Linked DNA regions of Homo sapiens: region 1 is linked to region 2. The links are contacts of gene promoters, found by promoter capture Hi-C in blood cells and fetal thymus (Javierre and others, 2016). All regions are on one chromosome and are shown on one strand. Each heading gives the region's core, a stretch centred on a gene start or on the middle of the fragment in contact. The rest is flanking DNA. Distances are from core to core; before and after follow the strand shown.

Region 1 (3,353 bases), core at 64-2,563, 520 kb after region 2:
TCTTTCTTGCCTATGAAACCCACTAATATATAATTAAATTGTATATTTCAAAACATTTTGAAGCATACAAATGACTATAAATTTATAAATAGTAATTTGACAAAATGTTTTACATATAAGTAATTGAAAATATATCATTTTTGAGATAATTCTTTTATGTGAGTCTAGTTAATTAGCTCATTTTCTCTGTTAAACATATATAATGCACAATGTCTTAAGAATGTCTGACTCCTTCCAATTTGTGAACTTTTTTTTTTTTTTTTTTGAGACAGGGTCTCATTCTGTTGCCCAGGCTCGAGTGCAGTGGCACCATCTTGGCTCCCTGCAAACTCCACCTCCCCGGTTCAAGCGATTTTCCTGCCTCGGCTTCCTGAATAACTGGAATTACAGGCACCCACCACCATGCCCAGCTAATTTTTATATTTTTAGTAGAGACGGGGTTTCGCCATGTTGGCCAGGCTGGTCTCAAACTCCTGACCTCAAGTGGTCCACCCGACTCGGCCTCCCAAAGTGCTGGGATTACAGTTGTGAGCCACCATGCCCAGCCCCCAACTTGTAAACTTCTTAAATGCAGGAACTGTATTTTATTAATCTTTGAATCAATATTATCTAGCACCATGGCTAGTTAATTATATATGCTTCATAATTACCTCTTTAAAAATCTTAAAATTGAGAGATGAGTTGAGGGTCTAAATTGCCTTTCAACTTAAAAAAAAAGTGTTTAGTTGAAAGATAATATACCAAAGTCCTGACAAATCTTTTACCTACTACCCCAAATTTGAAGATGTTTTTCTAAACATCATTATATTCCATGTTTTTATCATCTATTTCTTAAATTATTGTAACAGTTTTGTTTCTTTCACCTTGCTTTTAATACTGCAGAAGTTTAGTAACATAATCTCTCACACTGCTCTCAGCTTTTCATTTCCTTGCTCAAGAACCTGTAGTAGCAACCTTTGGCTTTTAAGATAAAGTGTTTATTCCATACCCTAGCATTGAAAGTCCTCTATCAAGAACCCTCTATTCCAAATTTTCCAATTTTAGCTCATTTTAAAACAAAGCCATTATACTCTATTCATATTTACTTTCATATATATATATGTATACATATATATATAATCTTCATACTGCTAATCTGCTTTGTGAGTCTCACCTCCTTACCAAGACAGGTCCATCCAAAAATGTACCCTCACTACTTTCTGCCATTGCAATACTCAGATTTCAGGTACATAGGTCTACTAAACAGCAAACATCTGGAAATTATGATTTCTTGCCTTGTATCAATTCAGTTCAAATATTTAGGAGGCCCCAATATTTCAAGGATAGGCATTGGGTTCTACAGAATATACAAAAATAAGTATATGACAATTGTAGCAGTTAAAGCCTACTTACAATATAATAGACACACTCACACACAATATTTTAATGAAAAGTTAAATTGTAGTACAAATAAAAATCAAAAAAGCTATGTAGAATAGTAATCAGTAGTATAACATGAAAAATAAGAGCAGTCAATAATTTTTAAAGTATGCTCAGTGAGCCATCAACATCAGAAACACTTGGTGTACTTATTAAAATTCAGATTCTAAGACCCCAGTAACACCTGCTAGGGATGGGTTGCCATGAAATCTGTTTTCTGTTTGTTTGTTTGTTTGTTTCCTCAAGCCCTTCAGATGATTTTGACATGCACTACAGTTTGAAAATCACTTGCTTAAACTTTGTAATCAGACAGACCTAGGCTTGAAAATTTATGATTTATTATAAAATTCTTGGACACACACAACCAGTGGGTTCCATCACTTGGCAACTGACAGTCCAATGACCACAACCAGGGTGGATTTCACAAGGGGATTCACTACTTGTAAGGAGGATGCCCAGGATAGTTCCTAAAGCAGTGCCTTACGATGGCGAACATAGGGTTGTGGTTTTTTTTGTTTTTGTTTTTGTTTTTGAGATGGAGTCTCGCTCTGTCACCCAGGCTGGATTGCAGTGGCGCACTCTTGGCTCACTGCAAGCTCTGCCTCCCGGGTTCACACCATTCTTCTGCCTCAGCCTCCCGAGTAGCTAGGACTACAGGTGCCCACCACCACGCCCGGCTAATTTTGTGTGTGTGTGTTTTTAGTGGAGACAGGGTTTCACCGTGCTAGCCAGGATGGTCTTGATCTCCTGACCTCGTGATCCACCTGCCTCGGCATCCCAAAGTGCTGGGATTACAGGCGTGAGCCTCCATGCTGGGCCAACATAGAGTTTTTAATTGGGCTGTTTTGCTGGGTCTTTTTTTTTTTATTTTTTATTATACTTTAAGTTTTAGGGTACATGTGCACATTGTGCAGGTTAGTTACATATGTATGCATGTGCCATGCTGGTGCGCTGCACCCACTAACTCATCATCTAGCATTAGGTATATCTCCCGATGCTACCCCTCCCCCTCTCCCCCCACCCCACAACAGTCCCCAGAGTGTGATATTCCCCTTCCTGTGTCCATGTGATCTCATTGTTCAATTCCCACCTATGAGTGAGAATATGCGGTGTTTGGTTTTTTGTTCTTGCGATAGTTTACTGAGAATGATGATTTCCACTTTCATCCATGTCCCTACAAAGGACATGAACTCATCATTTTTTATGGCTGCATAGTATTCCATGGTGTATATGTGCCACATTTTCTTAATCCAGTCTATCATTGTTGGACATTTGGGTTGGTTCCAAGTCTTTGCTATTGTGAATAATGCCACAATAAACATACATGTGCATGTGTCTTTATAGCAGCATGATTTATAGTCCTTTGGGTATATACCCAGTAATGGGATGGCTGGGTCAAATGGTATTTCCAGTTCTAGATCCCTGAGGAATTGCCACACTGACTTCCACAATGGTTGAACTAGTTTACAGTCCCACCAACAGTGTAAAAGTGTTCCTATTTCTCCACATCCTCTCCAGCACCTGTTGTTTCCTGACTTTTTAATGATTGCCATTCTAACTGGTGTGAGATGGTATCTCATTGTGGTTTTGATTTGCATTTCTCTGATGACCAGTGATGATGAGCATTTTTTCATGTGTATGCTGGGTCATTTTTATGTAGATGTGGAGTAAAGGCAGCGCAGGTGCACTGCTCTGCTTCTACATACGTCATTATGTATACAAAGTGGCGGATAAGCTCCTCCCTGGACAGGAATTTTCATGTGATAATAAGGGGAGTTCTCTAAAGTAAATCTCCAACTCATGCATCTCTGACTTGAATCTGTTTTTGTTTTTCTGGGGCTGAGCTTCTTCCTGGAACTTTGTGAAACAAGAACTCAAGGTGCAACAATTACAAGTGGATACTTTTTCATAGTGCATACCCAACAGCCCAGGAA
Region 2 (3,280 bases), core at 486-2,985:
GAAAAGTTTTAGTTTTCCATGATTTAATTAAATTCAAAAACTATATATTAATCTCTTTATAGGATTCATATATTACACTTAGCATGGAAGATGAGAAGACATGACCCATTATTACTTTCATATTAAATCTAGTATTTGTTTTTCTCTGAATTTCAAGATGGGAACATGAAGCCTAAAAAGCTTTGTCAAGATCACACCAGACAGTATCAGAACCGGTTCACCAGTGTAACTCAGTTTCTTACAAGTCTTTTCTATTAACCATAATTATAGAGATGAAAGTATATCTATTTTTTATATGTCTGTATTTTGTAATCAATATTGATCTCACTGGTCTTAAAATCAAAGATTGTATAAACATTTTCTTCCACTAATTCAGACAATAAAAATGTCAACATGAGCACCCTGCTTTAAAAACATGATATTCCTGAATTTATTTTGCCTTTACCTCCTTTGTCTGCCTACAAGGTGTATGGCACCTCATTTTATCCTGGAATTGCACTAACAATTTACTAAGAGTTGAATGATCCTCACCGTATCTTATCTATTTCAAAATGTTATGAAATTTGTCGATTCAAAGCCTTAGACATAAAATCTATCTCTTCTAGTTTATAGATGAGAAAATTTATGCCCTGATAAATTAAGTGACTTTTAGTGCTGTTTAGGTTATAGGGATTATAATTATTGCTTCATATCGAACATTTACCAAATTATAAAAATGATAAAAGCATTTTAAATTTACATTTTCCCCTGATCATATCCAATGATGTATTAAACATATTCAGGAAAAACTATGCTTTGAGATGAAATTTTGTCTAAGAAATAAAGTATCCTTTGTATTTATATTATTTTATAATATTATGTTTACAACATCTATATTTTCTTTAAGATTATATTGACTTACAAATATTGTGGTATAAATTATTTTATATTATAAATAACATAATTATACCAAATATTTTTAAATGTGTGCAATAATTTTAAAATTATGAATTATTCAAAAGGCTATTTTGTCAAATATATATACTTATATATTATAAAAGAAACACTCTATACACACACATACACAACCTGAATTTATAACACATACACTCATGTTCTTATGAAGAAGGTAAAGGAAAAAATAAAAGATTTAAAAACTGCAGGATAAAGTTTCTTGATCTAATTAACTGATTAGGAACTGCACTTAGGAACTGATGGAGGAACAGCACCCAATTAGCAGAGCTCCAAATTAAGAAGAGCCAAATCACAAAACCAGTTATGATGAATACAGTTAATTTTTTTTTCTGTGTTGTGCTATGAACACAGATTTGTTAGATTTTTTTTCCTGGATACTTTGTAAGCTATAATTCAACACACACACACACACACACACACACACACACACACACACGCCTAACTCCTTTGATTCTTTGAGCAGAATACTATATTCAGATTTCCTTCAAATCACAAGTAGCTTGTTTGGCAAGTTCTAACAGAACTCAGTCAAGGTGAAAGCCAGCCAGCTTTTTACTGGTAACAATGTATTCACACAGCCTATGATCTCTCTCTGTTCAGGCTGCTTCTTGCTCTTGTCTCACAATAAGAAAGGAGTGCTGCTTTCCTGGGGTATGCTATTTGAGAAAGAAAGTAACCTAACACTAACTGCAGGCGGGGTCAGAGTGATGTAACAGGAAGCTCTGATGTTTCCCTTCTGCTGCTGATCACTTACAATCTGACAACACTTACAATCTACTCAGAACAACCTCTCTCTCTCCAGCAGAGAGTGTCACCTCCTGCTTTAGGACCATCAAGCTCTGCTAACTGAATCTCATCCTAATTGCAGGATCACATTGCAAAGCTTTCACTCTTTCCCACCTTGCTTGTGGGTAAATCTCTTCTGCGGAATCTCAGAAAGTAAAGTTCCATCCTGAGAATATTTCACAAAGAATTTCCTTAAGAGCTGGACTGGGTAAGTGCACATTCAAAATAAATATATTTATTCTAAGTAGTATTCTCATATAGTTTGGCAATGTTTCTATTATAGAATTTAGTAGATAGCACTGAAATAATGTTGAAACATAGTCTCACTTATTTCACATGCTAGAGAAAATACAGCCTACTACCCCAACATGAATACAAAATCTAATACTACTAGATAATATTGTTTACCATGGTATTCTAGAAAATAAATTTAGCAAGTATTAAAAATCTAAATGGATTAAAAGACATATTTCTGAACAAATACCTTAATCACAGAACAATGTCTTTTAAAATTAGCTCTAATATTAGCTAAGCTTGAATCTTGACAACTGGAAAACATTTCTCCCCCCGGAAGGGTCTTTAAACTTTCCATGTTATCAGCTGTAAGAAAGAGGTGAAAGAATAACTACTTAATGGGTCTCGGAGTCTCACTTACTCTGTGGTTGATCATAATGCAGAGTTTTGAAAAGTAATCACTTTGTATTTATTACATTTGCTTTTATTTGCCTTTCACCTTTATTTACACATATATCTGTAACTACTGAACTAATTTTTGTGTTCATTGTTGCCAGATGTGTTTAAATCTCTCTTCTGCTAACCCTGAACTGTTTGCTCTTTATTTGGATCATGGTGTCGGCTACAAAGAAAAAAAAAAACCTAGAGTTTAGGAAATGTAGATTTTTAAAACAATTCTTAATTTTGAAATCTTTAAGAGAATACTTCAACTTGACTGGTTCCCCTCTGCAAGCTTTTGGAGGGGGGTGTGATACCACGATATCTGTGGATAAAGAAACGTGACAGCTTTCCCAAAGAAGTATATTAGACGATTAAACAAAGAAATTAAAGTATTTATTAAAAAAGAATTTCCAGGATGGAACTTACTGAAATGTTGGATAAAACATCTGTTAATGCTCATTCCGATAGTACAGACTGTCCTGAACAATTTAAGAAACTAATGTCTGCTTAATAAATTGTTTGTGTAGATATATCACAAATTTGTTGCTGGAGAAAGTTTGATGTCAAATTTTAAATGATGTTGATAGATATGATTTTTAAGTTATATATTTTCTTACCTAAATGCAATTATACTTTCCAAGATGTCCTGCATTGGAAGCATCCTGTACTTAATCACTTATATCTGGCACATTAATAATAGACTACAAACATCCTGAGTAACTCCTCAGTAATTTACAACTCAATTTTTCCACAAATTCCTCAATATAATGAAAATTTAAATTAATTCTTAGATTTGTGATTCTTTAAGAGTATCATGGCTGATTTCTCTCTCTTTTCAATCTTCAGTTGTACTGAGTTCCCTGAC

Evidence for each region. The method cuts DNA at HindIII sites, captures the fragments that hold promoters and counts their contacts. A CHiCAGO score of 5 or more calls a contact.
Region 1: a fragment that was not itself captured here is called in contact with the fragment with the promoter of CALCRL in region 2 in 4 of 17 cell types (megakaryocytes, erythroblasts, M0 macrophages and 1 more); the score reaches 8.1 in megakaryocytes.

Annotation. Positions count from the first base shown.
Region 1 is chr2:186,922,279-186,925,631 of GRCh38, reverse strand. No RefSeq gene overlaps it. Among named protein-coding and RNA genes, the nearest start is that of ZSWIM2, 75 kb to the right of the region's middle. The HindIII fragment of the contact is 8,964 bases long and covers 1-3,353 here.
Region 2 is chr2:187,446,707-187,449,986 of GRCh38, reverse strand. It overlaps CALCRL (calcitonin receptor like receptor), which reads left to right and starts at 1,735. Exons shown (of 15, transcript NM_005795.6): 1 at 1,735-1,948. All of the region lies in intron 2 of CALCRL-AS1 (CALCRL and TFPI antisense RNA 1), which reads right to left. The HindIII fragment of the contact is 1,657 bases long and covers 183-1,839 here.